4 separate regions of the Homo sapiens genome follow, and regions 2, 3 and 4 are each linked to region 1. Evidence: promoter capture Hi-C in 16 types of primary human blood cells and fetal thymus (Javierre and others, 2016). All regions are on one chromosome and are shown on one strand. Each heading gives the region's core, a stretch centred on a gene start or on the middle of the fragment in contact. The rest is flanking DNA. Distances are from core to core; before and after follow the strand shown.

Evidence for each region. The method cuts DNA at HindIII sites, captures the fragments that hold promoters and counts their contacts. A CHiCAGO score of 5 or more calls a contact.
Region 2: a fragment that was not itself captured here is called in contact with the fragment with the promoter of TMEFF2 in region 1 in 1 of 17 cell types (naive CD4 T cells); the score reaches 7.9 in naive CD4 T cells.
Region 3: a fragment that was not itself captured here is called in contact with the fragment with the promoter of TMEFF2 in region 1 in 4 of 17 cell types (total CD4 T cells, total CD8 T cells, non-activated CD4 T cells and 1 more); the score reaches 10.1 in total CD4 T cells.
Region 4: a contact is called between a fragment that was not itself captured here and the fragment with the promoter of TMEFF2 in region 1, in 6 of 17 cell types (endothelial precursors, naive CD8 T cells, total CD8 T cells and 3 more). The highest score is 10.3, in endothelial precursors.

The regions. Positions count from the first base shown.
Region 1 is chr2:192,190,408-192,197,910 of GRCh38, reverse strand. It overlaps TMEFF2 (transmembrane protein with EGF like and two follistatin like domains 2), which reads left to right and starts at 2,978. Exons shown (of 10, transcript NM_016192.4): 1 at 2,978-3,558; 2 at 5,922-6,031. The coding sequence starts at 3,387. RefSeq lists an enhancer at 2,457-3,032. The HindIII fragment of the contact is 4,792 bases long and covers 1-3,903 here.
Region 2 is chr2:196,050,670-196,058,172 of GRCh38, reverse strand. It overlaps DNAH7 (dynein axonemal heavy chain 7), which reads left to right. Exons shown (of 65, transcript NM_018897.3): 2 at 57-119; 3 at 6,924-6,986. Among named protein-coding and RNA genes, the nearest start is that of DNAH7, 14 kb to the left of the region's middle. The HindIII fragment of the contact is 5,446 bases long and covers 187-5,632 here.
Region 3 is chr2:195,934,866-195,942,368 of GRCh38, reverse strand. It overlaps DNAH7 (dynein axonemal heavy chain 7), which reads left to right. Exons shown (of 65, transcript NM_018897.3): 20 at 5,577-5,770. Among named protein-coding and RNA genes, the nearest start is that of DNAH7, 130 kb to the left of the region's middle. The HindIII fragment of the contact is 531 bases long and covers 4,560-5,090 here.
Region 4 is chr2:195,321,877-195,329,379 of GRCh38, reverse strand. All of the region lies in intron 1 of LOC105376755 (a long non-coding RNA gene), which reads left to right. Among named protein-coding and RNA genes, the nearest start is that of LINC01825, 210 kb to the left of the region's middle. The HindIII fragment of the contact is 2,495 bases long and covers 2,551-5,045 here.

The sequences.
Region 1 (7,503 bases), core at 1,729-4,228:
ATCAATTCTAGAGTGTATATGCCACAAATAAAGTGTTCTAGCTCAAGAAGATTGAAAGTAAATATGGTATAGTATTTTAAAATAAGAATTTTGCAAATACATGGTATGATTGTGTCATATTACTAGCAATCATATGATACGCAATGCAAAGTACAGTTCATAGACTTAAATTTAATTCTAATAAGTAAACTGATTTTGCCTTGCTGGGGAAAAGTTAAAGCACTAATCCAATTGCTAATGCAGTCTTGTCTACTTCTTTGGTACCTAGTGACAAGTCTAAATAATGTATATATTTTTATTTACATATTCAGTAATACAATTCTCTGCTCAATGAGTGATGTTCTTCTGCCACTTGGTGGTGCTTGCCAGTTTCAGAATTTGTTTCTTGGTGGCACTATAACACTAAGTACAGAGTAAGTGCAACAAAATTGCAGCATTCCCATTGAAAAGGCTTTGCTTCAAACTGTTTAATAATTTAAAGGACCTCTGTGGAAGCAACCGCATTTGTTAACCAGTTACAACCAGTAATTAACTCCTTTGGAGTTTTAACTTACTTTTGGCAAAACGTCTTAGGAAGAGCATATATTATTAGAAAGTATGCCAAAAATTTACTTAGCAGAAAATTCAAAAACAGTTTTCCTCTGCTAAGAGGTTCTCTAAAATTCTACTTACATAGCCAAACTCTGAAATCCTAGCAGGTCCTGTTTCATTATCATAATTACTGCATAAACACTTTTAAGGACTTTGCCTTTAGTTTCAAGCATGACTTATTTTCATAAGCCTGATTAGTTACCACACCAGCCTTGCTATGGAAAATGACATGTTCTCATTCTCTGCTGTAGAGTTGTTAAATCTTGATCTATATTTATGTTGCCTTCTCTGCTGAAAGCCTGTAGCGAAAGAAATTTCTAATTCCTTGTTTTGCAATATTAGTTGGCAGCTCTATCTAATGGGTATTCTGTTTCCTTAAAGAATTTAGCTGCTCTGTCTAGAAGCCGATTTTCTGATGCCTCCAACGTCTGGTCTAATTGATCTGTTTTAATGGAGTCTTCGTCGGTGAGGAGCGAGATGCCACCGACTAGAATGCTGGGATCTGCTGCTTAATTGCCAGGAGTGAGAGACACTGAGATTCAGAAATCTTTGGAGGTGGGAGGGGAGAGGGACAGTCTCGGACGGAGGCGGAGATGTAAGATAAAGGGATGGATTTCACACAGGAAAAAAAAAAAGATTTCGTTGAGGCACTGAGGTGCTGCACGATCACATCTCTCAAAGGAGAAGTTAAAAAGCAAGGAAGTGGGAGGAGGTTGGAGGTTAAAGTACTTAAAAGGATTACTCGGGTACAATTTGTTTTTCTGCTGGTGTCTGCAAAGGATAGATAGTCCCGTTTTCAAAGTATATGAATGCCTCTTTTAAGTGATTGGGAATGGACACTAATTGCCTGTTAAATGTTATCAAATGCTCTCCTAAATTCAGGGGACACAGAAAGAGGGGCACAAAAGGAGAATTTAAATAGAAAAAGGGAGGATCCGGAGGCTTTTGAAAGCGGGGGGAGAAGAAGGAGGAGGGATAACAGAGAGGAATAGAGAAGGAGAGCGGAGAGAAGATAAACAAAAACAAAAACAGGAATCACTGAATAATCACACACCAAAAAGAAAGCTCTTCCCTATGGGGCATCCAAAACACTGAGACTGCAATAGTGACCCCGGTCATGGAAGAAAGATGTTCCTCTCCACCCTTGTCCCCGAAAGCTCTTGGTCCCGTTACTGGCGACTAAAATTCCATTAGGCTAAAGAGTGTGTCTAACTGCCTGAAGAATGCAGCAGACGGAAGGCGGGTCCCGCTATGCCGTTTGCCCTTCCCGCTGGAGAGAATGAAAGAAACGCGCAGAGCCAGAGACTCCTGCCGAGTTAGACCTTCTCTCGTCGCCCCAGGTCACCGGCCATCCGGCAAAGACCCGAGTAAGGAACGCAGGGTCACTGCCTGGGCCAACAAATGGAGCCCGCTCTCCCCTTCCCGGACGCCGCTGCCCGGCCGATGCTCCCGGCAACCCACCCGCGGCGTATGCAGAGGAGCCTTTCTCTTTCTCTCAGACCACTTGTCCCGACCAATCTGACCTTCCAAACACATCTGACCGCACCTCCCAGGTGGACACACTAATAGGCTACGGGCTGGAGAGGAGCGGGTGATGAGGAGAGGGATTCAAACCTGCGAACGCTTGGGCTGGGTCGGAGCTGCGGGGGGCCTGGGAGGAGAGAGGGGAGAAGAGAGAAGGAAGGAGAGCGCCTGCCGGGATGGCTGAGCTGCCTCGGCGAGCAGCCTTGGGGTTGCACGCTCTTGTGGGAGATGCTGCTGTTGCTTCCAGGTCGGCAAGAGCGGTTCTAACACCATCGCCTCTCACCCTCTTTCCTGTAAATCCCTAGAGAAACGTCCCTGGCCTCTCCGCCGCGACATTCCCAGCCTGCATCCCCCTACAGCCTAGGCGGCGCGCTCCCGCACGCTGGAGCGCCGGTCGCCAGCAGGACGCCCTCTCCCGCGCCGACTCGCCCCTCTCTGCCCTGCTGCTGCTGCTCCTCTGACACCTCCGCCCCCACCATCTCCAGCTCGGAGAGACGCCACCCAGCCGCGGCCCGCACTCGCGGCCCGGGGTCACGCGCGGAAGAGGGGCGCTAGTCCGGACCCCGCCTTCGGTAGGGGGCGTCCTGGAGCGGAGAGTGAGGCGAATGGTATATGAGTGTGCGGGTAGCCCACCCTGAAGCCCGAGCTTCTCATTTGAGCCATCCCCGCCTAGCCCCACTCGGGCCAGCGCCTGGCGAGCGAGCCCATCTGTGGCTTCCGCGGCCGCCTCCTCCTTGCATCCTTGCACCTCCTCGTCGACCCCTCCCTCCCGGGACCTGCATCCTGCTCCACCAATCAGAGCCCGACTGCCTCTTCCCACGTGACCCCGGGCGGGCTGAGGACCTGCTGCTTCCCAAACGCCAGAGGGATGCGGGCGGCAGAGCTCGAGAGGCGGCTGCCGGGCTGCGGGGCGCCTTGACTCTCCCTCCACCCTGCCTCCTCGGGCTCCACTCGTCTGCCCCTGGACTCCCGTCTCCTCCTGTCCTCCGGCTTCCCAGAGCTCCCTCCTTATGGCAGCAGCTTCCCGCGTCTCCGGCGCAGCTTCTCAGCGGACGACCCTCTCGCTCCGGGGCTGAGCCCAGTCCCTGGATGTTGCTGAAACTCTCGAGATCATGCGCGGGTTTGGCTGCTGCTTCCCCGCCGGGTGCCACTGCCACCGCCGCCGCCTCTGCTGCCGCCGTCCGCGGGATGCTCAGTAGCCCGCTGCCCGGCCCCCGCGATCCTGTGTTCCTCGGAAGCCGTTTGCTGCTGCAGAGTTGCACGAACTAGTCATGGTGCTGTGGGAGTCCCCGCGGCAGTGCAGCAGCTGGACACTTTGCGAGGGCTTTTGCTGGCTGCTGCTGCTGCCCGTCATGCTACTCATCGTAGCCCGCCCGGTGAAGCTCGCTGCTTTCCCTACCTCCTTAAGTGACTGCCAAACGCCCACCGGCTGGAATTGCTCTGGTAAGTCCAGAACCCCCGTCCCCGACCCTTTAACTCCGCAGAAGAACACGCGTATCCAGCACAGACCAGCCTACCCTAGCGCGCCTCCTCAGCCCCTCACCTCCTACTGCCCTAGACCCCTAATACCACCCACCTCTATCCAGAGAAACAAGGGGAACTGTTGCAGGCCCGGGGGTGAGGGGTGGTTCTGGGATGGGCAGAAAGTGCAGGTGTAGCAGGAAACCTTTGCATGCTTGCGCTTACATTGGAGCTGCGAGGATTTTGAGAAATATTAAACGGGATGGTTTTCTGGGTTCACTGTTTTGAAAGAGCACCAATCCTAGGGGAAACACTGAAACAGAAGCTTTGTCATCATTAAAGAAAAAAGTCTTACTAGGATGAGGAAGAAATAACTTTATGAGAAAGAATGAGCGAGAAAGCAATAAATCAAATGGTGACTGCAGGGGAATCGCTGATTCCTGGCAAAGGTGCCATGAGGTCGCACTGGTCTCCCGTTGAAGACCAGGTCACACAGATTCTAGAGGAGCTGGGTTTCAATAGAATTTCTCTCTCTCTCTCTCTCTCTCTCTCTCTCTCTCTCTCTCTCTCTCTATCTATCTATCTCTCTCTCTCTCTCATTCCCTTCTCTCCTAGGCGGCAAAAGACATTGGTTTTGCAGTCCAGATATGCCCCTCTCTTTGCTTCCCTAAGCTTCAAGGTAGTACAGGGGAGTTGAGAAAAAGAACACTTTGCGGGTCTCCCAGGCCGGAGTGGGCATGACTGAGGCTGGTCAGGCTCCATGTAGGCGAGCCGAGGGCGGAACCGACTTCAGTGGGCGCTGACTCCTCCATTTCTGGACAGGCTTCTGTGGAGTGGGTCAGGCACTCTTCTTGCTCGCTCGGGTTCCTTCAGATTCTGACGGCGAACGCTTGGCAGGCTTCGCTCTGCTGAAGCTTCCTAATTAAATAGGGCCAGAGGATGGGAGTTGCTGCACTCCTAGCTGGCATAGCATTTCGGTTTGACAGCCTGTAGTATACTGGGCAGAATTGTGGTGTAATTTCCTTGGCATTTTAAACTCCGTTAACATGCCTGGGTATTGTCCCCTAGGTGTGGTCTGTTCTAGTTTTAGCAAGTGTGTATGTAATTTTTCATCTTCTGTGAATATAATTTTGCTGTAGTTAAATCTGGCTCTGAATAAAGTGTCTTTCAAAGATGTATATAAGCTGAAGTGTATGTAACTTTAGAGAGGAGGGAATGACCAACTGTAACTCAGGGTGAAAGCCTGTATAGTTCCTAGTTATTACTGATGTAAATGCCAAAAGGAAAATTATTATGCATCATTCTAATTTATCCTTTACAAAGACAAGTTGAGATATGCAACCCTATTAGATTTGGGTCAATAGATTGTTCTCTTTTTTGGCAGTTTCTAAATTTGGCATTTTAATAAAACTCAACATGTTTCTATAACTTCTTGATTCATGCGTACATGTGTGTTGTTTTTGAAAGAATAAGTTTCACTTTGCTATTGCCTAATCACTTTTTAGATGCTTTATTATGGTAATAATTATGAGCCTGCAAAAACAATTTTTGGAAATGTTGATGGCTTTGTAGTCCAACACAGACTGGTTTGCTTCATTCCTAGCCCTTGCATTGTTTTAGGAAATAACTAACTTAAATGTGAAGTTGACATTTGCAATCAAGAAATTACATATTTACCAGATATTTTAAAGGGGACTGCATAAACTAAAGAGAATAAACTGGTTTTGCAGATAGGTTGTCAAGAACTTGGCACCCCGCTTCCACCCCTGTTAACTTAGAGGTGATCAATCTTCATTTGAGCCAAACAGACCATCACAGAAAACACTGTGCCTGTTTATCTTTATTATTGAGGCTTTGTTTCCTCTTTGTCTGGATACATTTCAAATAAGGGGTTGTTTCAGTCGTTGAAGCAAAAGAACAATTAAAGATGGGGAAATGGTAAAAGGGTATTCAGAGATCATCACTAGCTCTTTTCCAAAATGTGGAGTTTTGTGGTCATAAATATTGTCCACCTAATGAGCAAAAAATAAAAATAAAAAAAAAACAGGAAGCAAATGTTAAGCTTTCATTCACCACTGTCAGTATTAACGCAAGCTTTAAAAAATAGCACTATCAGAAAAGGATACTAAAGGAGAATTGACTAGAAAAGAATTGTGGAAAATGGAAACGAATATTGATCACTTAACTAGATTTTGAGGTTATCAGTAGACAGTGACCTTGCAGTACAGCTATAGTTGTTGGATTTAAAATTTAGGACAAGTATTTTAAAGCTTCAAAGTAGTGCTTTTTTTTGTTAAAAATCTGTAAGATGTTTTAATGACTGGAGTGTTCTCTTTGAATTTGAGGTTATGATGACAGAGAAAATGATCTCTTCCTCTGTGACACCAACACCTGTAAATTTGATGGGGAATGTTTAAGAATTGGAGACACTGTGACTTGCGTCTGTCAGTTCAAGGTAAGAAGTCTTATATTTGCATCTTCTAATTCATTAATGAGACTGCAAAGCAGGAATCTTCCTTTACAGCCTATCACTTGGAAATTTATAGCTATGCAAGCTAAGAGGGAAGCTGGCACCAAGCAAAAGTACTAGCAAGAGAGCCAACTGATGTCAAGAAGACATACGCTTTTTGGAGAAATGTATATGCCAAAGTTATAAATGCTGCTGGAGGTAGAAAGCTTCAGGTTGTGCTTTTGGGATGTCAAAGGAAAATTATGTTTCTCTGACCCTTCTAGCATCACTTTAAAAGTGAATTGACTGGGGATAATAGTCAAAATAGGGGGTAAGAAGTGTGGACTTATTCTTTTGTTCTTTTTGATTGGGGCTATCATCTTTTTATCTTATTGCTATCTGTTTTAATGGTCTTGGCCTTTATTATCCTTGCAACCTGACTAGGTTTTTAAGGTAACTCCTTATTAGTGTAACCTCAACACTTTGTTCTAATTTGGAAATCATGGAACTTATTAATTAGTGTATATCAGCTTTTTCATAGATACCACACTCAATTAGAACTGAATCCCCTAGGAATCCAGAAGAGCATTTAGATCCACAAGTCATTTTATGAACATCAGGAAATGTACTTTTTCTTGTGTTAATTTCTTTTAACTAACAAAGAGAGAAAGAAGTTGCACTACTGGCATGATCAAAACTGGGTTATTAGTATCTATTAAAGATAGAACTTTTAGTGTCATTAGTATAGTCATTAGCTAACAAATGCTTTCCACCATGTAAGTTATAAAACTTTTCCTCTCAAAGTGTTCATATAATCATGCAGAACTTCAAGTAGCATGGATGTTGTACTAATAGCCTATATTTGCCCTTGAGTATTTTAAGTTACTTTTAAAAATACTTTTAAAATCTGACAATATGACTCAACCAGGAAATATGCACATAAACAAAACTGTATGTGAGATAATGAAAACTTTTCTAAGATTGTAAGAATAAAAATGATATAGAACAAATAAAAACAATAAACTCAAATTTAGACCTAGATATCTGGTTAATAAGTAATATTTAGAATTATTGATGAAATTTAAATATTTTAGATGGAATTCAACCTCCCACTAAGAAAGAGAAGAGAATTCACATTTAAATAAAGTTTAAGTGGCTTTTAGAAATGCTAAAACCTTCTTAGACATTATTTTATTCTTTCTAAGAAACATAATAAGACAACTGATATTTGTAAAGTGCACCACCTCCTGGTGGGTAAGTAGTGCTCTGACTGTACAGTTTTTTAGACCATACCATAGTGTCAGAAACATATTCTTGCATATTTAATATGCATGTAACGTCAACTTCTAAGGTCTGCAGCCACATTAAACAGTGCCATTATGTACTTCCAATGAACTACATGAGAGAGATAGAGTATGAGAACTCCCCAATTCATACTTACCCAAATGTTAACTAAACAGGAAAAAAGCACAGTTGGA
Region 2 (7,503 bases), core at 1,660-4,159, 3.9 Mb before region 1:
ATCAATTTTAGCATTAACGGAGTAAACAGTTTTGTTTTTTCATGTTTTTCATACAGGATAAATCGGCCAGCAAAGAAAAATCCAAGAAACCAGTAAGATTTCTACCACAGCTGTCTATGGTAATTTACCAATATACCATCATACTTCATTCCTTTATGATAATGTTTGTTTACTACTTTTCAAGCTTGAAAGTAAGTTACTGAATTTCTGATTTTAAATTTTATACAATTTTAAATTCCATTTGATTCTTTTCTGATGGAGGAATTCTGTGAGGTACATAGGAAGAATAATAACAATAAAATAACTATAGGCTGTAATTTTCAGGTATGTACAGGATGGTTGGGTCCAGGTTAGATTTTACAGAATAAAATTTGCTGTCTAGGTATGTTGAGTTTAATGCGGTTGAGTTAAACTATTATAACTTCTACAGAAGTTGAGTTTAAGTGGAGTTTCAATTCAAATATTAATTGTTTTGAAACATTTTAAGAGCTCAGCATGAACTGTGTAATGGAATTTGGACTGCTTTATGCAGAGTTGATTCCTAATGTTTTGAAATAAAAAAACTTGGATGAAAATTTTAAGTGTATGATCTTGGACATTTCAAGTACATGTTTTAATTGTGTACTTATTCATATTAATAATACCAAGATTACCAAAAGTTCTACAAAATAGAATCAAAGCATTTTTTTTAGTTCTGCAAATATTTATCTTGTTTCTAGTTTATAAGTAAACCTGAAATGAAATAGACATTTTCTCTTTTAAAAAATTTGACAAATTCTAAAATTGAAAAAAGGTATTAGCTTTTTTGGCGTGTTAAATTTAAATTTACTTGCTGAATAAATATTCAGTGGCTGAGTTGAATAATCTCTTCTAGTCAGCAAGGCATGTAATTGTCTAAAATGCTTTCGTTGGCTGATTTAAAACCTTATATTGTGCTCATGTTTGACTGGCTCTTGTAATTTTCCTTCCGTATCCTTTGAGTTTTATGTCTTTTAAAAGAAATTAGATTTTTAAGAGGTATTTAAAAACATTCATTTATTTAAAAATTTTTATTTGAATATTAAAGTTTGTTCCTGGCTATAAGTTCTTCCGCAGTAATTAAGACATAGAATGATTTTAATTACGGACCTTCGGGCTTCTAGAGGTGAACCCTGTAGTTGAAACTGGCACTGGTGGCTCTCAGCCCCTGTGAGCTGGTGACCTGATTCTCACCCTTTCTGCACACCTCATTCATATCCCTCCCACAAGTCTTAAATCTTTTATGGAACAAGATTAGAGTTGAACAATGAAAGAGCAAATGGAAAGATGAAAGAGCACTGACTTACATGTTTTCCTAGCCTATTTTCCTGTGCACAAGTTATCTGAAACAAGGACTTGTGTGCAGGTAGTGTATTTGAGACGCAATAATAAGAGACTGAGGAGAGTAAAAGTAGGAAGAAGGAAAGGCCACACAACCATGGGCTATCAAGTTGATTAGCACAGTAGGCAACTGGTATGTCCTGCCATGACCTCTGAGCTTATAGAATGCTTCCTGGAATTGATCACCTGAGGAGGGTCAAGGAATAGCATTTATCTGTCATCTTTCATCCTGTATTGGTGAAAGATTGTTCCTGGGGATGTTGACTCCCATCCTCTTCTGGCTGCTCATGTGTGTGAGCAGAGTGGGCTCTTCCTAGAGTCCCATACTGTAGCATTAGAGGATTCCCCCTGCAGAAAAGAAAAAACATTTCTTTTTTCTTTTTTTTTTTTTTTTCAGACAGAGTGCAGTGGCATGATCTTGGCTCACTGCAACCTCCGCCTCCCGGGCTCAAGCAATTCTCCTGTCTCAGCCTCCTGAGTAGCTGGGATTACAGGTGTATGCCACCACGCCTGCCTAATTTTTGTATTTTTAGTAGAGATGTGGTTTCACCATGTTGGCCAGGCTGGTCTCGAACCCCTGACCTCAGGTAATCCGCCCGCCTCGGCCTCCCAAAGTGCTGGGATTACAGGCGTGAACCACTGCGCCCGGCCACAAAAGATATTTTCTTGATGTGAGAAGCTAGCACAGAACTGTTTACTGCAGCCATGTCTGGAATCCAAGGTGAGGCCAGCAGGATGTGAGGCATCATTTGCCAGATGATTTTTCTGACATATGTGTGGCTGCTTGTCTTGGTTAGCTAGAGAAGCACTATTTGTAAAATATTCTATAAGATACATATTCCGCACTGCAATGTAAGAAGAAAACATTAAGGTCCTCACCACCCTTCTTCACCTAGAGTGATGGTGAGACTTGGAGAAATAGCTCAGCAACAGCATGGATGATGCAGAGATCTTAAAAAGTCAGGGTGGTGGCAGTGATGGGGTTGTTGTATAGGAGGCTTGGGTTACATAGGGTGTTTTGGATATTTGTAGTGACTCCAGGACAATAGATGTCATTCGAATTACCTCTGTCCCTGATGTGAAAATTCCAGGGCACTTGGACTAGACATCCCAGAGCCATTCCTCTCTGTCATCTATAACTGCATTCTTCTCAGGCCTTTGCCACACCCTCATTCTCCCCAAAGGGAAGGCTTCAACTCTGAGAACACCTATTGCACCTGTTAGCTTGAAAATGTTGTGCTCATATTTCCCTTCCCATTGTGTAGCCCAGTGGGAATTGTAGAAACCAGAACCATTTGGGTTACAGCATTGTATATGTGTGAAACGTTCCCCTAATCTGGTGCTTGTATTTCAGAAAGTACTGTCTGAAGCTCATTGCACTCTTTCCTTTTCTTTTCCTTTCTTTTCTTTTCTTATCTTTAGTTATCCATTTTTTAGGGCATGGTTAACCATTTTGTAATTTTTTTTTGAGACAAGGAGGTCTTGCTGTGTTGTCCAGGCTGGAGTGCAGTGGTGTGATCATGGCTCACTATAGCCTCTACCTCCTGGGCTTATGTGAGCCTCACCAGTAGCTGGGACCACAGGCATGGGTCACCACGCCTAGCTAATTTTTGTATTTTTGGTAGAGACAGGGTTTCACCATGTTGCCCAGGCTGGTCTTGAACTCCTGGGCTCTAGTGATCCTCCTGCCTTGGCTTTCCAAAAGTGCTGGGATTACAGCTGTGAGCCATTGTGCCCAGCCTCACCATTTTATGATTTTCTAAGATAAAGCTAAAATGACTTTAAAGTCAGTTTTCCCATTGTATTAGTTCCTTCTCATGCTGCTATGAAGAAATACCCGAAACTGGGTAATTTGTGAAGAGAAGAGCTTTAGTTGACTCACAGTTCCACATGGCTGGGGAGGCCTCAGGAAACTTACAAACATCGTGGAAAGGGAAGCAACTTTCTTCTTCACATGGTGGCAGGAGACAAGAGGGAGAAGAATGAGAGCCAAGTGAAGGGGAAGCCCCTTATAAAACCATCAGATTTTGTGAGAACTCACTATCACAAGACTAGCATGGGGGAAACTGCTCCCATGATTCAATTACCTCCCACCCAGGTCCCTCCCATGACACATAGGGATTATGGGAACTATAATTCAAGATGAGATTTGGGTTGGGACACAGCCAAACCATGTCACTCATCTCTATAAGACTGATTTAGTAGGTGGAGGTGGGGTGGGGTGAGGGGTTAGGAGAACAGTATAGGTAGGTGTACACATAATTCATATATCAGAATATATTTTATTTATTTAAAGACAGGTGTCTCTCTGTTGCCCAGGCTGGAGTGCAGTAGTGCAGTCTTGGCTCATGGCAACCTCCACCTCCTGTGCTCAAGCAATCCTCCCTCCTCAGCCTCCTGAGTAACCGGGACCACAGGCACCACCATACCCAGGTTATTTTTGTGTATCTGTTTTGGTAGAGATGGAGTTTCACCATGTTGCCCAGGCTGGTCTTGAACTCCTGAGCTCAAGCACTCCGCTCCCCTTTGCCTCCCAAAGTGCTAGGATTACAGGCATGAGCCATCACACCCAGCCAAAAATAATTTAAACAATAAAGAATGCTATGCATCTTCAAAGGAGATTACTTACAGTTGGAGTTAAGAAATGAAATGTAAACTTTTTCGATTTTGGTCTTAAAGGGCTAGATTTTAACAGGGAGATATTTTGGAACCTATTGGTGGCTCTGACAGGGTAATTAATACTATCTGACAAAACAAATGGAAGTCGAAATCTCAGAGACTTAACCCAACAAAGATTAGGCCTTGCTCACATGAAGTCTGACGAGGGTCAGGTAGCGCTGCATCTTATAGCTATGCCAGTGGGAACACATGGGCTTCATGGGTGTGAGATAGTGATGGAGGAAGCACACCAGCTCTTAACTCCCTGTCCCTCTAGCTCTTAACTGCCTGTCCCTCTAGCACTTAACTGTGTTTCCTGTTGTGCTCACATTTCACTAGCCACACAAATCATATGGCTACAAAGTAACTAAGAGAAGCTGGAAAATAGTTTGGAGTATGTTGAGGAAGGCTTTGGACACCAAGAAGAGTTGTGCCTACTTCAACAGGGGGCTTTAAAATGTTTCTGAACAGGGGAGCAGTATGATCAGAGCAGTGCCTTTGAGAGGTAGAGGTGACCTTTTGTTACCAGCATTTTCTGTAAATCCAGGCCCATGTCTCCTGTTGCCTATATTATTCTTAAAAACCTGCTAAACTAGCCTCACTGCTGACTCTAGTCCCCTGCTTCTCATGTATCCTGTTTGTATCATCAGAACCATTTATGAAATAGCTTTTGTATGTCTCTACATCATAAACAGGATAGCATTATAATTTATCATCTAAACTAAGATGCCATTGAGAGCGAAAGTTCTACTAGTTATGCTTGGGCAAACTGAGACTAAAGGTGTAAACTGAGACTGTCTTCCGCAAACTGAGACTAAAGTTCACCCTAAAAGGAGACTGCAGTGGCTCTCTATTGCCAGCCTGGCCAGTCAAGCCCTGAAACCCATGTCCTCCTTAATATAACAGCACCCACTTGTCTAGCTCTAGTTTGTTCTTCCCCTACCTTTTATTCAGGTTCCTATTCAAACATAACCTCTGCAGAGAGGGTCTTACTACTCCATCTACCTAGCACTTTTCCACTCCTTCCCTCTCTGTTCCTTCACACTGTTTTATTATTCTTCATTGTACATACTAGTTTCTGAGATTATGTTATAGATCTGTTCTGAAATAACTGTACCTCCTCTAGAATGTGTACTCCATAAGCAGAGGGACTTAGTCCTTTCCACGACTATGGACTAGGTATCTTAGTCTGTAGTCCTATGACTTAGTCTATGAGCCCAGCACATGGTAGGAGCTGGTGAACCATTGTTGAGTTAGGGAATGGATTACCTTCCCCATCCACTCCAACATAGCCTCAAAGCCTGCCATTGACATTTAGACTCCAATTCTTGATGCGCCCTCTGACTTCAGTAAGCTCTTTGCTGTCCTTCTCTGTGGAGATCCAGGTATGCTTTAAGGCTTAGCTCCACCCTTTTTCTTTTTGAAACGTTCTTAGAATACTCTGCTCCACATCCTGTCCTAGATGGAAGCACATGGTCTTTAATATTAACTGGACTGTGTGCTTTGTGAAGGCAGAGACTACATGATTTCTTATCTACGTAATAGGCATAAAAGTGGTACAACAGTATTTACCCCACAGCGTATAGAATATTAAAGGTGTTAATTCATGTAAGCTTCTTAGAACAATGTGGAACACATATGGTAATCAACATAAAATATGCTCTAATCAATATATAAACATTGATAATTTACATTCTTTGTGTTTTGTACTAAGTCTTCAACATCTAGTACATATTTTAAACTTAAACACATCTCACTTCAGAGGAGCCGCATTTCAAGTGTTTGGTAGTTACAGGGGGCTAGTGCATACTGTTTTGGACAGCACAGCCCTGAAGAATAGAGGAATAGCAGATATAAGGAGCAGCCACTCCCTCTAGGTCTGAGAGAGAGTGCTCAAGGAACAAACTTGGAAGAGCCGTCCCTTCCCCAAAGCCTTAGATTCAGACCTCATGGGAGATGTGGCTGTGGCCCACTGGATGACAAAGACATTTGCTGAAGAGCTGCAGGTCTGGGCTGGGAGGTGAAAACCACCTACTGGGATCCTGAAAGTTTGAAAGGAAGTCTCTGTCTGTGGTATAAGTGAGACTTGTGGAAAGTTGCTGTCAACTTGCAATATAAGCATACAAGTAAAAAGGTTTTATTTGAGAATAATATACAGGAAGTGAGATTGCAATCCAGGACTTACGTACAGACTAGGGTGGCCTCCAGTATGTCTGGAGAACAAGTTAAATGATTAGGGTTTAATTGGGGAAAGAGGAGGTTATACAAGTTGTTCTGAAAGAAAGTTTATTGGCACTGGCAGTGTCTTACAAGAGCTGGCGAGTTTTGATTGGTGAGTGTCAGTAGTTCCTAGGTAGAACTTGTTATTTTTTATTTATTTTTTTTTCTTGAGACAGAGTGTTGCTCTGTCGCCCAGGCTGGAGTGCAGTGGTGCGATCTCTGCTCACTGCAACCTCCGCCTCCTGGGTTCACGCCATTCTCCTGCCTCAGTCTCCCAAGTAGCTGGGACTACAGGCACCCACCACCACGCCCGGCTAATTTTTTGTATTTTTAGTAGAGACGGGGTTTCACCATGTTAGCCAGGATGGTCTCGATCTCCTGACCTTGTGATCCGCCCACCTCAGCCTCCCAGAGTGCTGGGATTACAGCCACCGCGCCTGGCCGGTTTTGCATACTTTTTAAAGCTTTCTGATAAGTATTGCTGGATATAATTTTCCTTTATTTTCTTGCTCTAAAGAAAACAATTCTGAGACAAACCTGAGAATTTAAAAAGCAGTAAAGTTTATCTTTGAATATGTTGGATAATATGTACTTTTTAAATAGTCTTTCTGTAAAATTTGGTTCAGTGAATCAATTTTAGCACTAACAGAGTAAACACTTTTTTCCCCTTCATATTTTTCACACAGGAGAAATTAGCCAGCAAAGAAAAGTTCAAGGCACCAGCAAGAGCTTTACCACAGCTGTCTATGGTAACTTATCCAAATATATTCTCATTGAATTTTTGTGCTTCAAAAAATGTTTATTAGTTTTCTAACTTGAAAATAAGTAAGCAAATTCCTGCTCCATTTGATTCTTTTCTGATGGAGAAATTCTATGAGGTGTGCATATTAGGACAAATAACTATCTTAGTAAAGTAACCATAAGCTATAATTACCTGTATATGTAGAATATTTCAGTATTCTGAATGAACGACTTGCCAAGATTGGTTAGCAAAAGGAGTATTAGCGTTGGAGTAAATAAAAAAGGGCTTGGGGTAAAGCTTTGCCTCTAATGGCTCTGTGCCCTTTGGGGAGTCACTTACCTCTTGAGCCTCAGTTTCTGAGTTTGAAAATGAGCTGAGTTGATTTGATGATCTTCAAGGAGATGGGTCTTCCAGCAGAAAAATGCTGTACTACAAAATATTTCTTAGATTTTGGAATCTTTTTTCATTATTTTGACTATAAAGTGTCATTGTCTTGTGGAAGAGGCAGTTAATAGACATTTTCA
Region 3 (7,503 bases), core at 3,576-6,075, 3.7 Mb before region 1:
TTGCTTCCTCCCCACCCTTCCTTCTTCTCAAATAACAAACACACTGTATCCGAGGGCGTTTGCACTGGTTGGACCCTCTTCTGGAATGTGCTACCTCTAAATATCTGCGGTGTTAATGCTTTGCTTTCTTGATATATTTTCTCAAATATTACCTTTATAAAGAGGCTCACATCGAACATCCTATTTGAAATTAACCCACCTTTGACTTTTTTGGCACTTCTTATCACTTCTTTCTGTTTTGTAGCATCTATCATCTACCTTACTATATAATTTATCAATATGATGTTTGTTATTTATTGTCTGTCTCCCCCATGGAGGCTGGGATCTTTGTTTTGTCCACTGTTGTCACCCAAGCACTGAGAAAGGTCACTAACGTGTATTAGCCCTTGGTAAATGTTTGTTAAATGAGTAATAATTGAGATTGATGCTTGAATTATTGTTAATTCTAAGATTCTGAGTTTACTCTGGAAAACTTCTGAAAACTCAATTTTAGGCAAATGGGCCCTGAGATTTAGGTTAATCCTAGAAATACATTGAATCTAAATGAAAGAGTTTCTGCTCCTGATGAAGTCAAGGACTCTTAAAATTGTAAGAGGTTTTAAGTTCTACTCTGTCAACCTACATTTCCTTTCTTGAAGTGCAAAAGGTTTAATGAGGATCTTATCAATTTTCTGTTGTCCAGGGATTTTGCATTAGGAAATTTATGCTCCCAGAAATTTACCAGGCAGGCTTGAGCTTAATTCCATTAAGTATACAAAACTGCATTATCTCTTTTTTTATTTTTTATTATTTTTTATTTTACTTTAAGTTTGGGGATACATGTGCAGAACACGCAGGTTTGTTACCTTCGTATACATATGTCATGGTGGTTTGCTGCACCTATCAACCTGTCATCTAGGTTTTTTTTTTTTTTTTTTGTCATCTAGGTTCTAGGTTTTAAGCCCTGCATGCATTAGGTGTTTGTCCTAATGCTCTCCCTCCTCTTGCCCCCCAACCCCCGACAGGCCCCAGTGTGTGATATTTCCCTCCCTGTGTCCATGTGTTCTCATTGTTCAACTCCCGTTTATGAGTGAGAACATGCAGTGTTTGGTTTTCTGTTCCTGTGTTAGTTTGCTGAGAATGATGGCTTCCAGCTTCATCTATGTCCCCGCAAAGGACATGAACTCATTTTTTAAATGGCTGCATAGTATTCCATGGTGTATATGTGCCACATTTTCTTTATTCAGTCTATCATTGATGGGCATTTGGGTTGGTTCCAAGTCTTTGCTATTGTGAATAGTACCGCAATAAACATACGTGTGCTTGTGGCTTTATGGTAGAATGATTTATAATCCTTTGGGTATATACCTAGTAATGGGATTGCTGGGTCAAATGGTATTTCTGATCCTAGATCTTTGAGGAATCGCCACACTGTCTTCCACAATGGTTGAACTAATTTACACTCCCACCAACAGTGTAAAAGCGTTCCTATTTCTCCACATCTTCTCCAGCATCTGTTGTTTCCTGACTTTTTAATGATTGGCATTCTAACTGGCATGAGATGGTATCTCATTGTGGTTTTGATTTGCATTTCTCTAATAACAAGTGATGATGAGCTTTTTTTCATAGGTTTGTTGGCCACATAAATGTCTTCTTTTGAGAAGTGTGTGTTTATATCCTTCACCCACTTTTTGATGGGGTTGGTTTTTTTTTTAATTGGCTTAAGTTCCTTGTAGATTCTGGATATTAGCCCTTTGTCAGATGGATAGATTGCAAAAATGTTCTCCCATTCTGTAGGTTGCCTGTTCACTCTGATGATAGTTTATTTTGCTGTGCAGAAGCTCTTTAGTTTAATTATATCCCATTTGTCAATTTTGGCTTGTGTTGCCATTGCTTTTGGTGTTTTAGCCAATGAAGTCTTTGCCCATGCCTGTATCCTGAATGGTATTGCCTAGGTTTTCTTTTTCTAGGGTTTTTATGGTTTTAAGTTTTACAATTAAGTCTTTAACCAATCTTGAGTTAATTTTTGTGTAAGGTGTAAGGAAGGGGTCCAGTTTCTGTTTTCTGCATGTGGCTAGCCAGTTTTCTCAGCACCATTTGTTAAATAGGGATTTTTTTCCCAATTGCTTGTTTTTATCAGGTTTGTCAAAGATCAGATGGTTGTAGATGTGTGGTGTGATTTCTGAGGTCTCTGTTCTGTTCCATTGGTCTATATATCTGTTTTGGTACCAGTACCATGCTGTTTTGGTTACTGTAGCCTTGTAGTATAGTTTGAAGTCAGGTAGCATGATGCCTCCAGCTTTGTTCTTTTTGCTTAGGATTGTTTTGGCTATAAGGGCTCTTTTCTGGTTCCATGTGAAATTTAAAGTAGTTTCTTCTAATTCTGCAAAGAAAGTCAGTGGTAGCTTGAGGGGAATAGCATTGAATCTATAAATTACTTTGGGCAGTATGGCCAGTTTCATGATATTGATCCTTCCTATCCATGAGCATGGAATTTTTTTCCATTTGTTTGTGTTCTCTCTTATTTCTTTGAGCAGTGACAAAACCGTATTTTCTATGAAACTTCCTAGTAGCAGAAATGAGAAAGCTCTCTATATACTCAATGTTTCGGGCCCCTGATATCACATTCATTTGGTTTAGAAATGTAAACCTAGTAGATCATCACTAGAGCTGATGAGATTGGTGGGTGGTTGTGAAGTAAAAGAAGACACTTAAAAATTGTCAGTCAGTGTTCTTTTAACCAAAAAAATGACAATTAATAATTCAATTCTTCCCCTTTAGGAGACAGAAAGTAATTAAAGTGTCAAAGAAGTCATACTAAGATTCAAATTTCTAGTAGCTTCCTGTTACAACATCTTATTGCTATGTTCTGAGGACATAGCTATGAAGTACCAGCCTTCTGTGACATGGAGGCTTGTACATTCCTTGAGTTTCCCTGTATGAGCCCAAGTGCAGTTCATCCTGCATTTGCTGAAGCACTCAACATGGAATGGTGACTCTGTACCAGGATTTGATGGCGATTCTTAGAGGAATTTAAAGTCAGTGTTATTTTACTATGATAAATACCTTTCTTGAAGGATGGAAGATTATAAAATGTTCATTTTAACTCCATAAAACATGGAGTGATGTAAATGCTTCATTTTCCCCTTTCCCCAGAGTCAATCCTTCCCCACCTGCACTCTTTCTAACAGACAATTTTGGGGTGAGGAGAAGGAAAGGGGGAGTAAAAGGGTCGCTTCAAGTGTCTGTGTGTTTTAGACACCATATTAGTCACTTCAAATACATTATCTAATTTAGTCCTCATACCGATTTTGAGAGAGGGCTTTTATCCCCATTTTCAAGATAATAAAAAAGGGACTCAGATTAAGCAGATGATCTAAGGTCGCACAGGTAGTGGGGAATAGAGTGTGGACAGACACCAAGTCTGTTCAACTTGGGCCCCTTTCTTTATCTGATACAGTCTTTATTATGTTTGTCTTCTCACTGGGAGAGAGTAAAGGTAGTTGAGTTGCCAGTCATAAGATGATTACTTTTATTTTAAAATCTTAAATCCATATACAAAGATACATAGATTATTGCCTGTGTTCATTTAAAAGTAGCATATTTGGTTCAGAGTTATTAAGCTAATCTGGTTAAATAGGTTTGACCCTGGAAATTCAATAATAAAAAAAGTTTACCTGAATGCTCTTTCCATGGTTTGTTGTTGTTTGTTTGTTATTTTGGCAATTATAATATTTAGCAAATGGAATATACTGGTTTAAATAACTGAGTTTTTAGCTTTCAAATCTTAGATTAAGAATGGAAACATTGCAATAATTTTTTTGGTTGAGAATAACAAATACTGTTCATGTGTGAAAGGAGTTTTTTACATTTATTAGCCACAATTCAGCTTTTTTCCCCAAACAAATACAGGCATACTTTTCCAGAAGGTGGCACTCTAAGAACATTATTTTGATATTTGGATTTAGGCGAACATGATGGCCTGAGTCTGTTATGCTGTGTGTGTTTGTGTGTGTGTGTGTGTGTGTGTGTGTGTGTGTGTGTGAATGTCTATTTGAAACATAAAACAAGAAGCATAATAAAATTCCTTTTAAAAATTATGCACCTTTAAAGATAAATTGATCTAATTATATTATATGATTTATATATTCATGTTTTATTGAGGAAACAAGTAATGATAATTATTTTCTTTGATTAAATTGCTGTTTCCAAATTGCATTGTTGTAATCCAAAAAAAGCAAAAATTGTATCTTTCCTTTTCAGACACATTCAAAGTATGTTCACAAAAACATACTTTAGAGACTCCTGCAATTGAATAAAATTCCTATAGGAAAAAATTTACTGGTTACATTTTTGGTTATCTCTCAGTCATGGCTAAATACCAAAAATATCTAATTAGTTAATCTTGAAATTTAGTATTTAGTTTTTAACAATATTCTCTTGATTTAATTTCATATAAATTTCCTAAAATGCCCTGTTACATTAATAAATGTCTGGTGTATTTTCATGAGGTGTGCTACTTGGCGATTGAAATCTCTGTTGTGTTAGCACCTTTTTTGTTTTTTCAACACCTTCAAGCTTATTAAGTAAAGAACTTTCCTTACATTGTCAATGATGTCAGTGGTGAACACTGACTTTGGAATTATAAGACCAAGAATAGACCCAGATGACATCAACCATGTGTTAAAGAAAAAAAAGTAAAAAGAATTCTATTTCAACTATATCTAGGCTGTATTTTTATATGTATTTCTAAAGATTTTCATAAACTTGGTGGTTACTGTATAGATATTTTGAGAAATCAATAAACTCTATTTACTTTTTTTAAAAAATATGAGTTCTTTAAGATCAGCTTTTGGTTATAATTCTTATTTTGAATACACAGGATAAAAGAAAGCTCTTTTAAAAATATTTGATTGTGTTTGAATCACTTTAAAGCAAACAGCTCACAGTGACACTTTCAAGTGAGAATGTTCACCATGCCTTAAAGGTGGAACAGTCTGTCTCTAGAGAGTTCAGGAAGAGCACACCTTGAACTTCAGTCCTTCAGCAAGAAGTGTTATAAAGTAGTTTCAAGGGTCATTGTTTACAATGTAAGATCTTCTTAGAAAGCTTTCTTCCTCATTTCCTCAACCCTTACTTTTTTCTCTGTAGTTATAAAACAGGGATTCTGTTATGTTATTATTATTCATAACAATAAAATTCAAAATAATAATTATAATGATGACTTATTGTTTAGAATTCTTTTCCTCAAAGAATAAAATACAAAAGAAAATATCTCATACCAGTTTGTTTCCACTGTCCTTCTTGTGAGTTCAGGCAGTGTTCTCTCTCTCTCATTTTCTGTTTCTTACACTTCTCAACTTAGAATGAGAATCGTTATGAACAGGGCTGAGGATTAAATCAATGTGACTTTTACAGAATCAGAGAGGCCAAGTAGACCTAGAATATGCAAGACTACTTTTAAAAAACAAATACTCCCCTTAAAATTTACATAACCTTTGTTTGATTACAAACATATAATCTCAAATATAATATGAATATAAATAGAGTTAGTATCTAATATTTTTGAATTGAGTGTTTTTTATTTTTATTTTTAGGATAAACATGTTCTGACAGTTGTAACCATTGACAGAATGCTGGAAAGGCTGAAAAAATCTAATGAACTTTTGGAGCTCATTCTTAAAGGACTTAATGAATATTTGGAAAAGAAACGCCTCTTTTTCCCCAGATTCTTTTTTTTGTCCAATGATGAACTTCTTGAGATACTATCTGAGACTAAAGATCCCACTAGGTAAGTAATTTACATGTAGAATACATGACTAAATTTATCTGCTTAAACTTAATTTTTAGAACAAAGTAGAACATAAATATATATAATCATGTTTATATAATATTTTTTCTACAAGAATGTTCCAAGTATTATATAATCAACTTTGGATAATTATTAAAAATGTAACTAGTATCACTGAATGAACCGTGGAATCGTTTTCTTTTTTTGTTTGTTTTTTTGTTTTTGAGATGGAGTTTCACTCTTGTTTCCCAGGCTGGAGTGCAATGGCGCGACCTTGGCTCACTGCAACCTCCGCCTCCCAGGTTCAAGTGATTCTTCTGCCTCAGCTTCCCGAGTAGCTGGGATTACAGGCGTGCGCCACCATGCCCAGCTAATTTTGGTATTTTTAGTAGGGACAGGGTTTCACCATGTTGGCCAGGCTGGTCTTGAACTCCTGATCTCAAGTGATCCACCTGCCTCGGCCTCCCAAAGTGCTGGGATTACAGGCGTGAGCCACCGTGCCTGGCCAGATTTCTTAACTTATCACATCTTACAGATTTTTCAGAACACAGCTCTTTCACAGCACATTCAGAATAAAAGCCACTGCTCTCATGATGGTTTGCAATGCCCCACACAGATTATCCTTCCCCTGTTATCCTTCCTATTCATCTCCTACTAGTCTTCTTGCTCACTCTGCATGCAGCCCACCAACCTTTTTGCAATTCCCCGGTAAAAGGGGCAGCCTCCTTTCTCAGTGTACTGTTCTCTTGCCTGGGATGCTCCTTACCCAAATGTTCATCATACTTCTTCCTTTACCTCCTATAAGTCTTAGTGGAAATCTGGTTAAACATCTGTCATTCAGGGAGGCCCTCCCTGACCACCATATTTAAAGAGGCAGCTCCCTCCATGCTCAACTTGCCCTCTTTCCTGGACTTATTTTCCTTGCCTCATTTTCCTTCTGCATAGTTGTTATCATCTGGCATACTCTGTAATTTACTTATTTGTTAATGGCATGTCTTCCTCTAGCGGAATATAAGCTCCACCATGGTAGAGATTTTTTGACTGTTTTTTTCCCACTGCTGATTCCCCAATCTTTAGAAGAGCATCTGATATAAACAGTGAATAGATACTTGTTAAACAAATGTGTTAATTTTGTTAACTTGTGCCTTCAAAGTAGGGGATATGTAATCTAAACAAAAGGTAAATTTAGGCTCAGATTTCTATCTGAGTTTTTATACTTTGCTTCTTTTTGTCCATTTGAAAGATGAATGCAACGGGTTATTGGTAGTGTGCCAAAAATGAGTTGTGTCAGTCCCATCTGTATTACATTGAATAGACTAATAGTTGGATACTGTCAACGCAGTTGATTTAGTAAACTGTAAAGTACCTAAGTTACTAAACATAGTCCACAATTTTCAAGCAGTCTCTGAAGAACCCAGTTGAAATGGCTACTTTTGTGCATTTGAAGATTCTTCAGATTCATGTATTTATCTGTTAGTCAAGATTGGTTTTCTCCTTATGTTACCTTTAGCATCTTTTAATTCATTGTATTGAAGACAAAGCCTCGTGGTTGTCTCTGTAGCTCTTACTATAATTGTAATTTTACAGATGTTTTGTGATTATTCAGTTAATACTGACATCTCAATGGACTATATAATGCATGTAGGCAGAGCTTGTGTTTTTTGTTTGTTTGTTTTGGGGGTTTCCGGTTTTTGCACAGCATTTCATTCCCAGCAGCACCTAGCATTTATGAA
Region 4 (7,503 bases), core at 2,549-5,048, 3.1 Mb before region 1:
AGGTTGCCTATTCACTCTGATGATTGTTTCTTTTGCTGTGCAGAAGCTCTTTAGTTTAATTGGACCCCGTTTGTCAATTTTGGCTTCCGTTGCCATTGCTTTTGGTGTTTTAGTCATGAAGTCTTTTCCCATGCCTATGTTCTGAATGGTATTGCCTACGTTTTCTTCTAGGGTTTTTATGGTTTTAGGTCTTATGTTTAAGTCTTTAATCCATCTTGAGTTAATTTTTGTATAAAGCACAAGGAAGGGGCCCAGTTTCAGTTTTCTGCCTATGGCTAGCCAGTTTTCCCAACACCATTTATTAAATAGGGAATCCTTTCCCCATTGGTTGTTTTTGTCAGATTTGTTAAGATTCTTTCATTTTGAAATTGCAAAAACCCAATTAAACAAGGTTTACCAAGACGGTAATTTTTTTCCTATATAATTAGAAAGTCAAAGACATCATGGGTCAAGATTTTTTTTTTTTCTGATTTCTTGGCTTTAGTTTGTTCTATGCATTAACTTTATTCTTTGGCAGGCCTTTTCTGTATGTTTGGAAAGGAGGCTGCTGACAGTCTTAACTAAATATATGTATTTATAACCTAAACTCCATGGGAGTAGAGCCTTTATCAAATATGTGGAATTCAGGTAAAGAAATGCTAGAGAGAAATTTATAGCCATGAATAAATGTAACAAAAAGAATAAAGTATGAACATCCATGAGCTAAGATGACATGTCAAAAAATTAGAAAAAGGACATCAAGAATAACCAAAGAAAGTGGAAAAAAGAAAATAATAAAATAAATTAATAAAATAGGAACCAAATGTAAGTTGATTTTTTTAGAAAGATTAATAAAATTGTTGTAATAATCTTTTGACTGCAAACGAAAAAGTAGATACATAGTCAGGTTTCTTTATTGTCAAAAAATTAGATTTTTAAATTAAGTATTAATATCTCATATCCACGAAAATTAACAATAAAAATTATAAAAAAGTATTTATATCGCTTTTAGTGTCTTCATAAGAATAACAACTCCTTTAGGTGTTTTGGAGATACTCAGACTTAACTGCAAAGGTGGTAATTCTGAACTCAAATTAATATCCCAACAAAATAAAAATCTTTTTTTTTTCTATAACACACACACGCTGCATGGATTAATTATGGATGGCTTTCTCAGAACAAAAATAGGTTACTAGTACCACAAGAAGTGGCAAATGGTGGATCACAAAATCAATCAAAGTTTACTGCATAGTCTTCTTTATAGAGATTTTCTATTTTGCACTGACTTAAGGACTTACCGTTTTTTAAAAACTTGAAGATAAAAGGAAAAACATAAAGTAAGAGATTTTTAAAAATTGCCATTGTACCAGGGGCTTCCTAGAAGTCTACTCCTCAGAACAGTGACGTGGAAAGGCCTTTCGGAAGAATCACCTTCTCATGTCCCTTTGTTACTTGACAATAAAAGGGATCCAAGATGTTCCTTACACCAAATTCCAATTAATAGAGAATGATGCCGCAGTAAAAGCATGACGTAGAGTATGAAGACTTAGAAGATTTTCACTGGATCAGTGTAACTCTGGAGGGTGTTAAAAATTGATCTCTTTCATGGTCCCAACAATGTATTTAACATAATTCCACTTTCATATGCTTAAGGTAAAGGGAGAGTAGAACAAATTAGAGTCTCAAAGCTTCAGTTCTCTTTCTCTATGATAACTATTGAAGAAAGGCATAGGAGGAATTTTAAAGGGACGCCTCTTTGCCAGCATTGAATTCTGTGAAATAAAGCAATTCAGTGACCTGGTTAATTCTGTTGCCCTAAAAAACTCTCGTATTAGTTTCCCCCATTTTCTAATATGCAAAATATTTCTGAAATAAGAAGCTGTAGGTCCTGTTCTTTACTTAGAGAAGAGATATTTGCCAAAGATAAAGTACTTGACTTTGCTTTTCTTTGGTGATTTTTTTTCATTCAATAACTTTTGGCATAGGGTACCCCATCACATCAAAAACTCTATAGTTTAAAACTCATTAAGAACAGGTTTAAGAATTTTGAATTTATTTATTACTAGTTATTTCAAGGTGAATACAAAAGAGGTAAACTTATTCTATTTTCTACTCAAACTGTCTGAAAAACACTATTTTAAACTTTTCTGCAGTTTAAAATAAGGGAGATGGCTTAGTTTTTTGGATATATGAGGGATTATCACACATATGGACATATTTCTAACATATTTCCAGGAGACAAGCTATAGAACATAAAAAGTCTGGTGGATAACCAAGAAATGAAGCAGAAGATGTGAAGATGAAACTGTGTACAGATTTCTATTTTTACCCTGCATGAAAACTGGACACATGTGGGAGCCAATTTTATAGAGATTAATAGAGTAGGGCAGCTAACTTTGAGCTGCCCAGGATGGGATTATTAGTGATTTAGTGAAAGAAAACATGTGCATAAACAACAGATAAATGCACTTGAAAACAAAGTGAAAGGTTCAAAATGGTTTCTGGAAAAGAATTTTTTCAGGAAACATCTGGAAAAATATGAAAAAGTTTACCCCCCAATTTACATAAGCTTCAAGAGAGAAATAAAGGCAATGTTGAGAGTAGTTGAGCTGGGGAGGAGAGAAGAAATGCCTAACAGTTCTGTGAACCCAAGATTTAGATAATTACAGTATGTTAAGAGTTTTTTAAGAGGTTTCCTTTTTTAAGAGTTTTTTAAGAGGTTTCCTTTGAGGGAGCAAGTACATAAAGTACCAATGAACATTCTTTCACAATTTGTTTTGAGTCTTTTAGAAAAAAAGATAGAAGGCAGAGTTTTGATATAGCTTTTTTTTAAACAATGAAAAATGGGAGAACTTCATAGCTTTTCATTACTTTACATGGTTCTTGGCTTAATTGATCTCTCATTTTATTTCTAGGATTTAAAGAAAGCAAACATGACCAGCACAAAAATAGATCGCCATTTTTCCATTTAGAAGTTACTCACAGAAAGGAAGAGAAAAGGAGCCTTACTTACTTATTTTGATCTCTAGTGAAGAAATTAGATGATATTTTTCCATAAGAGGTCATATCCTACTATGTTATGCATGTATTATAATGATTTCCTCCCAGGATGATCCCAGAATTAACAACAATTATGCTGCTTTTCCTCAACACGTAAATTTATTTCGTATACTGCTTAAGGTAGTAAGAACTGTGTGGAAGGTTATTTTAGATACCTTATCCAGGGCTGGTAGTTAAGTGATTTTTACCTCATTCCTTCAAATTTCAGAAAGTGGATGAAGAGTAATCAAGTCCTTTAAATTCACTGAAGAGTGCTTTCTCTCAAGTAGGTAGGAATTGGTAAATTATTTATATAAGTCAAATGAAGCCTTGCAGTCCTGTACTAAAACACTATTTAGTGGGAATAGAATGTAGGAAGCTCTAGAAAATCAATTTGCCACAGTACTCTTATTTGAAAACCAGCCCCATGCTAAGACTGTACAGTTATGTGAGACTTAACCCCCAGTCCCTTCATTCAATACAGTACCTCTCTTTTGGAAGCCAGGAGAGGGCTTCCTACAGAAAAAGAGCTCAATTTTGGTCTTAAGAATTTGTATTTGAATAAATGAATTAAAATTATCTACAACCAATCCCTGCTCAGTCTAGTATTTCACATAATAGCTTTAGTTTTCTTTTTTTTCATTTCTGATGTAGTATATTTTAGCACACATTACATAAAAAATAAAACCATATATCTTCTGCTTTCTCTGCCCCCCTTTTTGGTAGTTATGGCTTCCCATGGTTAAATGGCAATTAGGAATTAGGGAAGGTGATAGAATTAATGTAGGCAGGTTTTATTCTCCACCTGGCTTTAATATAGATCAAATAAGATGAATGTCCAGCCATTAGAAAGCAATTAAAAACCATTGCCTCACACACGAATTTTTGTCCTTGTTTTTCCATATATATCACCAAGAACCCTTCACTTTCCCCCTCTTTCTTGTCTATATCTTAACTAAATCTCTTCCCAAATGCTGAGTATAAAGAGTTTCTTATTTACTCCCATATGTTGACTTGAAAATCCCTTTAGGTAGATAGTTCTGGTGCTTTCTGAGGAAGAGTTGAGAGAAGATATTGAGGAAAAGATCACAAAATCACATGTTCTGGTCTTCACTAGATGATTGACAGCCATCAGTCATTTGTGTGGCTACCATGTCTACCCAAACCAATCAGAGTTCCACTGGTGGTTATTTTGTGTTTTTGGATCTTATCATTCCATCTTTCCCAAACCTTTAAATAGCTTTTAATATTAAAACAAACAATAAACAGATTTTTAAGTGTAAAAACTTAGGGTATCATTATAGTCTCTTACGTCATATTCTAATACATGTAATGCATCTATACCTTCAATATATTCTTGTTTTTGCTTTCAAGAGTGAGTTGAGAGTCATCAGAATTGATTGGCATCTATTCTATTAATGGTTAAGGCCAAACTTAGAGAAATTTGGGGAATTAGGCATACTTGATCTTTGGTGCCCCTCCATCCAGTTCTGATTTTAACTAGTCCTTTTTCTTATCTTAGTACTCTTTCTCGGTACTCAGTACAGTCTTCTCAGAGGCCAAGTCTTAGCTCCCATACTTCCACAAATACTGCTGTTTTTCTTCAACAGTATTTCTGGAAGTTCTTTAAATCATTCCAGACTTTATCTTCCTTTTGTCATCAAAGTTTTCCTCACCTCTATACTAATATTTTGCAGCTCTATCAAGTTGCTGGCAAATCTAATCAACAAATGGAAACCAAAATGATAATGGCTGAAATAAAAAATAGTGTATATTTTGACCTAAAGGAGTTAGCATTTTGTATATTTCAGGCTTGTGTCAGAGCCAATGAGAAATATATTTTTCAATGAGATTTCTGTTAGAGATAATCAGGTCATATCCATTTTCAAATGAACAACAGATAGGGCAAAAATGCCTTGACAACAGCCCAAGATGTACCTGATGATCTTTACTTCATTGGCCTTCATATATTTCTTGATAGCCCTCTCTCTCACTACTGATTTTATTCTCTCATTGCCTTGGAAGCTTCAAAACTGTCTTTGTTCATTTTGTGTTCCCATAAGAGAATGCCCGAGAGTGGGCAATTTAGAAAGAAAAGGAGTTCATTTGGCTCATGATTCTGGAGCCTGGGAAGTCCAAAGCTGGGCAGCCTGTCTGGTGAGGGTCTCATGTGAATTAAACTCATGGCAGAAAGTGGAAGGAGAAGCAAGTGCATGCAAAAAGAGGCTGGGCTTTTTTAAAATAGAAACCTACTCTTGTGGATTAGTCTCTGGGGACTAATCCAGTCTCCGGAGAGCAAAAACTCACTCACTACTGCAAGAATGGCATCAAGCCACCCAGAAGGGCAGCACTCATGACCCAAAAGCTTCCTATTAGAGCCTACTTCCCACATATTCCATCCCCCAACATTGCCATACTGGAAATTAAGTTTCCAAAATGAGTTTTGGGGACACTGAAAGCAAACTAAAAGCTCCTGCATATTATAATCAGGACATCATGAGTGGCATTCTGTGGGAAATATTTTCCCTCCATTTTGAGTGTGCTTATGCTACATCAGTGACATTCCTAATCTTCTTCAGAGCTGAAATGTAATATTGCATGGACAGAATTTACTGTTGTAATTAGACCAGATCAGGATGACATGGATTAATGGATAGCCTTAATAAAATAGTTTTTAATTCTTCACTGATAATTTTAAATGTAAGTTTTCTACCTAAGGCCATGAATAGATCAGAAACTTAAATCTGTTTAATATTTTCATGTAGCGTTTCTCATTATGTCTAAGTTAAAAAGGGCATTAAAAATATGCTACTTGAGGGAGAGACTAAAAAACAACTGTACAGAAAGAACTGTGCTTGATTTTGTATCTTGAATTTTAAACTAAGGTAGCTTCTTATGAGAACAATCCAGAGAGTTATTATGATTTTAGCATTGAGAAGACTATTAATGTGAAAATTGCTTTATTATCATTTTGACCTTATTACAACATTTAGGTTCACGGTAGACCACCTATTAAGTGATTTTTCACCTTTGAGAACAGAGGCATAGGTAAAATTGTTTTTATTAACATAAAGTTCATATTATATTAATTTGCTGTATAAGCATTCATAATACACAAAGGCTGACTAGTTCTTGATGTCAAAGGAATTGTAGTTACAATGCTCCACGGAAAAGGAAACCCTGAACATTGTTACTCACATCTTCTGTGATTTTTTTTTTTTTTTTTTTTTTTGCTATAATGCAGTGAATGAATTTCAGCCATCATTTACTGAAATCTGTTGCCTGGGGGCTTAGAACATTCTTTATATTTAGCAAGCAGGAAAACTAAAATCGTGGCATATGAATAATGAAACAGACATATGTACTCCCTCTGGTGAAGTGGAAATAAATACTGTACACCTTTACAAATATTAGTTTATTTGTCCATTTTACTTCTATCCATAGGATTATTTTGCATTCTTTTTCAATGAAAATGACTAGAAAGTGTTCACAGTTGATAAATACATTTTCAGAAATACTAAGGCTTATATTGCATTAGTAAAATATTTTTGTTCTTTATAATTTTATATAGTTTTTAAATTAAAAAAGCATATAATAGGTGGTAAGTGCTAATGATGGTAATCAGGCATCTGGAGCGGAGGAATAGTTAAAATTAAAGCTTCCTTTCCTACTCAGAAAGTGACCTAGAAACGGCTTTCAGTGCCTTAGGATATTTGGCCTTGCCAGCCTTAGGGAGGGTTGAGAGGTGCAGGTTGTCTCTGAAGTTTGTCTTTATGTTCTATTAACAAGTCTCAACCTCGAGGCTGTGTCTGATTTATGGGCTTGGCTTGGTTCCACCCCTCACAGAGGTGGACTAGGGAAGCAAAGGCAGCAGCCAGGCTATCCGTCACCCAGAAGCTAACTGTAACCAGCTGATTTAGATTCTCTGCCTTGCTTGCTTTTCCTGAACTGTTCTTCATTATCATGATTCTGGTGCTCACATTATCTGAGACGGCAGGCTTTCCAATATTTTTATTTAATTTTTTTCAGTTTGTACCTCTTCTGACTGGGGTAGTTTACTTGATAGTGTTTAAATTCAGTTTTTTTGGAATACTGTGATTATGACTTTATGAATATATTAGGGATAAACATGCTTCTGTATAGTCTTCTTAATATTTAAATGTTTGAAGATAAGGGATGAATTTGGAAACTGAATTTCTCTCTCAGGTTTATTTATTCTTATTGTCAATTGTTAGCTACTCAGGAATGGCTTTAAGCCAGAGCAGTTAATTCTTTTCTTACCTTGGTGAAAGTGGGATCCAAGACTTTCAAGAGTCAGCTGAAAGGGTGATGCTGCACATTCTATCACTGGAGAGGGGAGAAAGCAGCCTTTTAAACTATTCCTGCACTCAACAGTTTAGTTATCATTATTTTATTGAGAAGAATAACCAGAGCTTAGCCACACTCAAATATAAAAGTACTACTGGCTATGTGTTAAGTGTGTTA